Linked DNA regions of Homo sapiens: regions 2 and 3 are each linked to region 1. Evidence: promoter capture Hi-C in 16 types of primary human blood cells and fetal thymus (Javierre and others, 2016). All regions are on one chromosome and are shown on one strand. Each heading gives the region's core, a stretch centred on a gene start or on the middle of the fragment in contact. The rest is flanking DNA. Distances are from core to core; before and after follow the strand shown.

Region 1 (3,224 bases), core at 174-2,673:
ATGTGTGAGGGAGTCTGTGAGGCAGGCATGTGAGAGACACACAGAGATCCAGAAGAGACACTGGCACCCAGTGTCCTGAAGACCGGGTCTCTCCAGCCTGCCCACCAGGCCAGCTCCCCAGGAGGCCACCCGGGGTCCTTCCCTAGATGGAGCCCCCCAAACCTCCCCTCCCTATCTCCTTCGTTTGGTGGGAAGAATCCAGTAGCCTCAGAAGAAAAAGGGAGCAAGAGAAAAGTGAGAGTCAGTTGGTCTGGCCTTGGGATGGTGCGTGCGTTCCCTGCAAGCCAGCCAGCTCCAGGACACCTGGGCCCATGCCTAGGAACCCCCACCCCAACTCCCAGACCTGGGCACTGCAGCAGCAGCAAAACCAAGAAGAGGAGCAGCAGGCGCCCCAGGGTAAGCCCCTATGAGCGGCCACTGCTCCATGGCTGGGAAGCCAGAGGGAGACGCCAGGCTTGGGGAAACACGAGGCCAGCCTCTGGTGGTGGAATGAAGGGAAGCCCTGTTGAGGATGCCCCTGTACACCACTGCCACCACTCCTCCCCACTCCCCAGCCTCCGGCCATCCAAGGCCAGGCAGCCCAGCTGGCAGAACTCACCACAGAGAAGTTGCTGGCGGAGCAGTGATGCCCACTGAAGTTGCAGCTCTTAAGCATGTCGGCGAGCTGGTGGCCAGTGCGGTTGAGGATGTCTACCATGTCAGGCTCTGGGTAGCGCAGGCCAGCCGCACGGTGCCCATCCCGGTCTTTGGGGGGCAGCCCTGTCAGATTGGCCAGGTGGAAGATGTCGGCATCGCTGAGTGCCGAATGCCGGAAGCGGTTGATATTGCAGAGGGTGACAGCCGGGAAGCCCGCCACTGGGGCTGGGGCAGCGGGGTCCATTGCCACCAGGTGAGGCCGGGTCAGGTAGCCCCGGGCCAGGCCAGCCGCCTGGTACAGGAAGGCAGCCAGCGAGGTGAGTAGGGCCAGTGCCCACAGGGTTCTGCGCAGTCCGTGGGGGCCTGGGCCACAGGCCCGGCCCAGTCCATGCAGGGTGCTGGTGCTGGCAAAGGTGGCCAGGTCTCGGGGGGCTGCTCCAGGGGCAACAGCCCCGAGGAGGCTCTGCTCATCCCCTGCCTCCTTCTCCTTGGGTTTCGCATCCTCCTCAGCAAATTTGATTTTGCACACAATCTCGATCGGCATCTGTCCCCGGCTGCTGGGACTGGCCAGAGCCTCCCTGCCCTGTCCCTCCCTAGCCAGCAGCCCTGGTGCCCTCCCGAGTGGCAGTGGTGGCAGCGGCTGCTCTTCTAAACTCAGGGCAAGCGGGAAGAGGACAGGGACAGGGTGGGGGCCCGAGGTGGGGGAGTCACTCCCACTCCCAGCAGCTCCGCAGCCCTGGTGCTGCCTCTGCCGCTGCTGCCTCTGCTGCCGCTTGTCTCTCTCCTCGATCGTCTCCTTGTGGCTTCCCTTATCAGCACCAGCACAGCTGTCAGCCCCTGCGTGTGTCCCTGCGAGCGAGCGAGTGAGCGAGGGAGCGAGCGCTGCTCCGCCACGCCGCGCAGCCCCAGCCGCTCCGCTCAGCATGTGCTCCGGAGCCCTCCCCACGCTTAATAATTCAGGACATGTCAACAGCGTTTCACCGGCAGCACGGGCGTCAGGAGCCAGGCCAGGGGAGGGGGCAGTCCCCAGCCCAGGACAGAGATCCCAAGACTGGGGCTATCCCCCAAACTCCTGCTGCACCCTAGCCGCTCACTGGGTCCCCAGATCTCCCCACTTCCTGGCCACCCAGGGAAGGGTGCCGTGCCCAGGGTCCTCAGCTCATTCTTTGCCACTTTCCTGGCCCACACCCCATGAAGGGTCAGCCAACTCTATCCCCCCACCTCCTGGCCTCTGAGACTCCTGACTCCAGCACCCAGCCACCACCTGATCCCACTACCCGACTCACAGCAGCTTCCAGAAACTCCTTGAGAGAGCCACTTGTTTGAATGACGGAGGGAGGGGGGCAGAGGAGGGCAGGCTAGACAGACCAGGGGACAACTGTGACTTCAAGATTCTCAGCTTCCCTGGAGCTTTGCTCCAGACTTCAACACCCACCATGCCCCTGCCCCCTCTGGGAGGCTGGCTGCCCTCACCCTCATTTTGCCCCCAACCCCAATCTCAGTCATTCATATGTCTGGGACAGACAGCACCCTGGCCAGCTTGCATATCTGTGGCCACTTTGCTTCCCCAAATGTTCCCCAAATCCCTTGCCACAACCAGGCTTCGGGGGAGGGCTGTTGGGTAAGCAAGCCAGGGAGCAAAGGGGAGGTGTGCTTCCGGGGTGCTCTATATGTAGGGGGACAGGGCATGCAATGGAGGGAGAGGAAGAGCCCCAGTGGGGGCGTGGAAGGGAGCAGGAAGATGTGCTGGGCGTCAATGGGAGCGAATGCTCTCCTAAAGAAAGGGGTTTGAGGGGTGCCTGGCAGAGTGGGGCAGGAGAGCCCTAAGGGGTCTGCTGTGTTCTCGTGGAGGGGAACAGGCATGTGGGCCATCATCATAGGTGGGGGTGGGAGCCTCAGTTGACTGGCCAGGAGGGGATGCATCCATGCCCCCAGGGTGGGGGTGGCAAGAATCAGTGCTTGTGCTCTGGGGCCCCATCCGACAGCATGTGCCCTCACGGGGGAGGAAGCCCTTGTCCCCGGGAGGAAAGGGGGGCTGATTAATCGGGGCGCTAATGAGCAGCAGGGAGAGGAAGCGTGGACGGGCGGGGGGAGGTGGCTCCATCGATCCAAGCCGCAGAACCAGCAGCTGAGAAAAAAAGTGAGAAAGGAATCGATCTGAGGGAAACGGCAGCTGCTGGGGATTAGAGCCCGAGGTCCACCCGCTGCCCAACGGCCACCCCGCCCCCTGCGTCAGGCCTGGCCCCGCAGCCTCTGCCTGGCCCCAGGGGAGGGGCCTAGGGATGGCTCCCTTAGCAGCTGGAAGCCACTTTGCCCACCCTGGCTGCAAGGCCAGGTCAGGCCCCATCAGGGTCACCCCAGCATGGAGCCTGCCCACACACCCAGCCCTGACCATGCGTGGTGCCCTGCTTAGGTTGTCCCTAGCCTTTAGGCAAAGTGGCTTCCCCAGGGACCCCACAGCTGGGCTTCCCCACAAGCCTCCAATGAGTCTGGGTCAGCTGGTTCCCCAAGCTGGGAAGATAAGACCCCTGGGGCAGGGTGATGCATCTGGCTGGGACATAGTGTCCCAGAAGGGAAAGTGGGATTGG
Region 2 (3,197 bases), core at 591-3,090, 140 kb before region 1:
GAGCAAAGCTGATAACTAGCTACATGGTCCCTAGATCAAAATGCTAACAAAAGGATTTGACTTTGATGGAGAAAGATTAGAAACAGCAGTGCCTAGGGAAAAGTGTAAAAGAGATCTGAGCATTCATAAAACTCCATTTTTTTGTAGTTTTACCATCCTGCCATCTCTATGCTGGATATTAAAGAAATGAGATTATAAACAGCCAGGATTCCATTCCTCCAGCATCTGCTTCAACCACAGTCCACAACAGCCTTTTATAAAATGAGGGAAGCAATGAGGTAGAGAGGAAATAGCCTTAGGAAGAGCCAGCTTCTTCCTCCTCTATAACTGATCTGAGACATTATCCATTTTTTGATTGACATTTGCTATTTGGGAGGTGGAGTCATCCAGCATCTAAACCCACTTCCTATGCATGAGAAATTCCCTAACTTAAAAGCAGTCCCGGTAAAAGTTTAACAACCATCTACGAAAAAAAGGAGGGGAGGACCTAATTTGTAGTGTCTGCTGATTTCTCTGGTGTAAATACTCCCACAATGGCCAATTTCAAACTATTAGTGTGACATCACTGAATGCAGAATTGGGAAGAAATGTGCCATAGCACATCACTATAGAATATTTCCACCATACAGATATAACAGACATAAATAACTTCCAGAATATAGACAATAGTAAAAGTAACAAAATAATTGGGAAGTCATGAATTTTGAGTGTTTAGTACCTTTATTTTTAATATAATGTATTTACCTGTGTTTGAATATAATGTATTTATTTTTTAATTATACATTTTATTTTAAGATTAGTGTCACAACCAAAATATTGACATGGACGGGGCAAAATTAGAGAACATTTCAATCACAATAATGGTCCCCCAAGTTGCCTTTTTGTAGCTGTCCCCTCCCTAACCTCTGGAAACCACTAACCCGTTCTCTATTTCTGCAACACTGTCACTGTAAGAATATTGTATAAATGGAATCATACATTGTGTAGCCTTTTGAGAATGGCTTTTTCAACTCAGTGCTATTCTCTGGAGATACACAGTTTACTGTGTTGTGTGCGTCAAAAGCTTATTCTTTATCACTGCACCATTCACCATTCACCCATTAAAGGACATCTGCATTGTCTCAGTTTTTGGCTATTGCAAATAAAACTGCTATAAACATTTGTTTAGTTTATTGTGTGAATATAAGTCTTCCTTTCTTTGTGATAAATGCCCAAGAGTGCAATTGCTGAGTCATATGGTAGTTGTATGTTTAGGTTTTTAAGAAACTGCCAAACTGTTTTCCAGAGTGGTTGTCCCATTTTACCTTTCCACTGGTAATGTATGAGTAATCCAGTTTCTCCACATCCTGGCCAGCATTTGATGATATCACTATTTTTCATGTTTCTCTGTCTCTCTCTGTCTCTCTCTCTTTCTCTCTCTCACATCCTGATAGGTGTATGGTGATACCTCATTATGGTTTTAATTTGCATTTCCCTAATAGCTAATAAGATTGAACACCTTCTCATGTGCTTATTTGCCATCTGCATATTCTCTTCAGTAAAATTTTTCTTCATGTCTTTTGCCCATTTTTTAAGTGGATGGTTTGGTTTTTTGATGTTGAGATTGAGGAATTTTTTTTTTTTTTTTTTTTTTTTTTTTTTTTTTTTTTTTTTTTTGAGACAGACTCTTGCTCTGTTACCCAGGCTGGAGTGCAGTGGCATGATCTTGGCTCACTGCAACCTCTGCCTCCCGGATTCAAACGATTCTCCTGCCTCAGCCTCCCGAGTAGCTAGGATTACAGGCACATGCCACCACACCTGGCTAATTTTTGTATTTTTAGTAGAGATGGGGTTTCACTGTGTGAGTCAGGATGATCTCGATCTCCTGACCACGTGATCCACCCGCCTCAGCCTCCCAAAGTGCTGGGATTACAGGCATGAGCCACCATGCCTGGCCCTGAGGAATTCTTTATATAGTCAAGACACTAGTCCTTTATTAGATATGTGGTTTGCAAATATTTTCTCCCACTCTGTACTTTGTTTTTTCATCCTCTTAACAAGGTCTTTTGCAGCATAAAATTTTAAAATTTTAGTGAAGTCTATTTAATCAATTTTTTCTTTCCTTTTATGCTTTTGTTGTCAAGTCAAAGAACTCTTTGCCTAACCCTAAACCCAAAGATGTTCTCCTGTTTTCTTCTAAAAATGTTTATAGTTTCAAGTTTTACATTTAATTCTATGATCTATTTTGAGTTAATTATTGCATAAGGTATGAGATTTATATCAGAGTTTTGTTTGTTTGTGTTTGCCAATGGATGTCCTTTTGCTCCATCACCATTTGTTGAAAAGGGTATTTTTTCTTCAATGAATTACTTTTGCACCTTTTGTCAAAAATTGGTTGGGTATATTTATGTTGGTCTATTTCTAGGTTTTTAAATTCTGTTCTATCAGTCTTTGCAACTATCCCTCCACCAATACCACACAGTCTTGATTACTGTAACTATATAATAAGTCTTAAAATCAGGTAAACTGATTCATCCCACTTTATTCTCCTTTTACAAAATTATTTTAGCTATTCTGGTTTCTATGCCTTTCCATATAAATTCTAAAATAATTTTGTCTATATCTACAAAAAAGCTTTGCTTAGATTTCAATAAAAATTGCATTAAACCTATATATATTAGTTTAGGACAAATTGACAACTTTACAATGCTGAATCTTCCAATCCAGGAACGTAGTATGTCTCTCCATTTATTTAGATCTTCATTGATTTCTTTCATCAACCTTGAGTAGTTAATATAGTTTGGATATTTGTCCTCTTCAAATCTCATGTCACCTCAACGTTAGAGGTGGGGATTAGTGGGAGGTGTTTGGGTCCTGGGGGTGGATACCTCAAGAATGGGTTGGTGCCATCCTCATGGTAATGAGTGAGTTCTCACTTTATTAGTTACCACAAGATCTGGTTTTTAAACAGTGTGGCACCTCCCCACCCCCTTGCTTTCTCTATCACCTTATGACACGCCTGCTCCTCCCTTCCCTTCCACTATGATTGTAAGGTTCCTGAGGGCTTCACCAGAAGCAGATGCTGGCACATGCTTGTTGCACAGCCTGCAGCATCATGAGCCAAACAAACCTCTTTTCTTTATAAATTATCCAGTTTCAGGTATTTCTTTATAGCAACACAAAATAGACTAATACAGAAGTTTTCAGCATGTAGATTC
Region 3 (3,085 bases), core at 273-2,772, 150 kb after region 1:
CCACCACGCCAGTCTAATTTTTTGTATTTTTAGTAGAGGCGGGGTTTCACCATGTTGGCCAGGCTTATCTTGAACTCCTGACCTCAAGTGATCCACCCACCTCGGCCTCCCAAAGTGCGGGGATTACAGGCGTGAGCCCCTAAGCCCGGCCTACTTTTTAAACTTTTTGTAAAGACCAAGTCTCAGTATGTTGTCCAAGCTGGTTTCAAACTCCTGGGCGCAAGTAATGCTCCTGTCTCAGCCTCCCAAAGCACTGGGATTAGGGGTGTGAGCCACTGCGCCCAGCCTGCCAACAATCTTAAAACTAATTTTATTTACCCAAAAGACTTAACAAGGCCCATGTGTTCAGATTCCTGTCTGTGTCCCCATCTTTGGAGGAAGGACACCTTTCACATGGGGAAAGGATCAGGGAGATCCCTTCAGGAGAGAAGGATCAGGGAAGTCAGAGAGATTGTCCTGCACATGCTGTTTCTCAGATCCTTCCAGCTTAAAATATTCAACATGCCAGTGTGCCATGTTTCTGGGTGGCATGTCCTGAACCCTCTTATTGGATAGTATAAATGGCTATTCACTCTGAAAATCTGTTGAGCTGTATCTTTACATTCTGTCTACTTCTGTTCATATGTATTACCTTTCATAATCAAAAGGTAAAAATACTTTTTTTAAAAAAAAGCATAAAAGCTTCTAAACACAAAAGTTGGTGTCAGAAATATTCTAAATGGAAAGAGGAAAAGAGTGGCTCCTAAGATGACTGGATTATTAGAAGTAAAGAAATGCCCTCCCTTCTTGCCCAATAAACTCCAGAAGCTCCCAGAGTGGCCCTAGGCGAGAAGAGATGAGAGGGAGGGTCAGCCGTGCTCTCCAGGGAAATCCCCTTGTTTTCCCCAGGCCAGCCCCAAAGGGGCACTAGTCTACACTGAACTCTCAACTTCCAGGCAATAGAGACCACCCTTTCTCTGCTGCTTTATTTGACAGCTTAGGAAAGACTGAAATGTTCAAACAAAAATGAACAACAACAGAAAGCCTTGACAAAGGAAAGCCAGATGCAGAGGACCATGGATCCACATATCCTAAATGCAAGGGAGAGCCTGCTCTCCAGGCTCCAGAGCCTTCCACTCATGGGCTACCCCAGGAATAATAGGGACTCCTCCCTGAGTCTCCCCACTCCTGACTCCAGGCTTTCCTCCCACAGCAGGTGACATTCCTAAGTTTGTATGCATGTGCCAGCACACATTTATATATACAAGTGCAATATGTACATAGTAATGCACACACATATTCTCAAACCTACACACATACACCTCACACACATACATAAACGTAACATATATACACCTACACACACATAAACAGACACATGCGGACTTACACATGGACATCTATACAGAAACACACACATGTAAGCATACATGCACACACACAACACAGGTGCACATGCACATACAATGTTTGCAAACATATACAGCCACAGGCATAGACACACATATACACCTGGATACATATACAAACCCATCACACATGCATACATATGCTCATTCACATACTACAAATACATACAAAAAGGCATACACATATATGCACACATGCACAACATACAAACACAGAGACATGCATGTAGGCATAATACATGCATGCATACTCGTGCGCAAAAAACACACATGTGCAATACACAGATACATATACATAAATGCATGCATACACATATGCAGACAATACATAGATACATGTCACACAAACATATTGCTATATATCCATATATACATATGCAAAAACATACACATATATACACAAACACACACATCTTTATGTACACACCCACAAACACACACCCCACATACCCACACGCACATACTGCATGTGATAGCCATCCTACAAGATGACCTCCAGTGATCCTTACCTCTTGGAATTCATGCCTTTGTGTAGTCCCTCCCACAGTGTATCAGGGTTGGTCTCTGTGGCCAGTATAATATGGCAGAAATGATGGCATGGGACTTCCAAAGCTAGGTTTTAAAAACACTGTGGCTTTTGCCTGGTTCTCTCTCTCTCTCAGGTCACTCACTCCAGAGGAAGCCAGCTGCTGTGTCATGAGGCACTCAAGCAGCCATATGGAGAGGCTGATGTGGTAGGGAACTGAGACCTCCTGCCAACAGCCAGCATCGTCTTGCCAGGAGGGTGAGTCATCTTGAAAGTGGATCCTCTAGCCCCACGCAAGCCTTCAGAAGACTACAGCCAACCCTGAGTAACATCTTCACTGCAACTTCAAGAGAGACCCTGAACCAAAAATACCCAGCTAAGCCTCTCTCAGATTCCCAGTCCACAGAAACTGTGAAATAGATGTTTATAGTTTAAGCGACTAAGCTTTGGGGTAATTTGTCATGTAGCAATAAGCCATAGATATTCTTTGCTAAAACTGGATTTTTAAAAAAAGTAATAGACAATGAATACAAGTACACTACATGTACACATATACACATTGACACACACATCCCATCTACATACACAAATACATCTCCCACACATACAAACCTACATACGCACACACAAACACACATGCATACAGTACACATTGATTCATACAAACACATGCACACACATATAAACACATGGACACAACACCCATGCACAAACATATAAACACATGTATACACATATAAACACATGTACGCATGCGCAAGTCCCGAGAACCCACTTCTAGAGTCTTTGGGCTCTTCACCATCTAGATGCCCACCTGGGGCTCCCCATAGAGCTCTGACCCATCTCGGAGGAGCTGCCTCTTCTCTCTCTTTTTTTTTTTTTTTTTGAGATGGAGTTTTGCTCTGTCACCCAGGCTGGAATGCAGTGGCACAATCTCTGCTCACTGCAACCTCTGCCTCCCGGGTTCAAGCAATTCTTCTGCCTCAGCCTCCAGAGTAGCTGGGACTACAGGCACATGCCACCATGGCCAGCTAATTTTTGTACTTTTAGTAGAGACGGGGTTTCACCATGTTGGCCAGGCTGGTCTTGAACTCCTGACCTTGTGATCTACCCGCCTCGGCCTCCCAAAGTGCTGGGATTACAGGCGTGAGCCACCGTGCCTGGCCTGAGG

Evidence for each region. Contacts are between HindIII fragments. The CHiCAGO score rates a contact against its expected background, and 5 or more counts as called.
Region 2: a contact is called between a fragment that was not itself captured here and the fragment with the promoter of ASIC4 in region 1, in 1 of 17 cell types (M0 macrophages). The highest score is 5.1, in M0 macrophages.
Region 3: a contact is called between a fragment that was not itself captured here and the fragment with the promoter of ASIC4 in region 1, in 1 of 17 cell types (neutrophils). The highest score is 6.1, in neutrophils.

What each region holds. Positions count from the first base shown.
Region 1 is chr2:219,512,681-219,515,904 of GRCh38, reverse strand. It overlaps ASIC4 (acid sensing ion channel subunit family member 4), which reads right to left and starts at 1,423. Exons shown (of 10, transcript NM_018674.6): 1 at 599-1,423. The coding sequence starts at 1,180. All of the region lies in intron 1 of ASIC4-AS1 (ASIC4 antisense RNA 1), which reads left to right. RefSeq lists a silencer at 1,325-1,500 and an enhancer at 2,785-3,224. The HindIII fragment of the contact is 12,103 bases long and covers 1-3,224 here.
Region 2 is chr2:219,654,771-219,657,967 of GRCh38, reverse strand. No RefSeq gene overlaps it. Among named protein-coding and RNA genes, the nearest start is that of SLC4A3, 29 kb to the right of the region's middle. The HindIII fragment of the contact is 1,550 bases long and covers 1,066-2,615 here.
Region 3 is chr2:219,361,774-219,364,858 of GRCh38, reverse strand. LOC105373883 (a long non-coding RNA gene) reads left to right here. Exons shown (of 2, transcript XR_923917.3): 2 at 2,051-2,357. Among named protein-coding and RNA genes, the nearest start is that of DNPEP, 25 kb to the left of the region's middle. RefSeq lists an enhancer at 2,247-2,296. The HindIII fragment of the contact is 1,677 bases long and covers 684-2,360 here.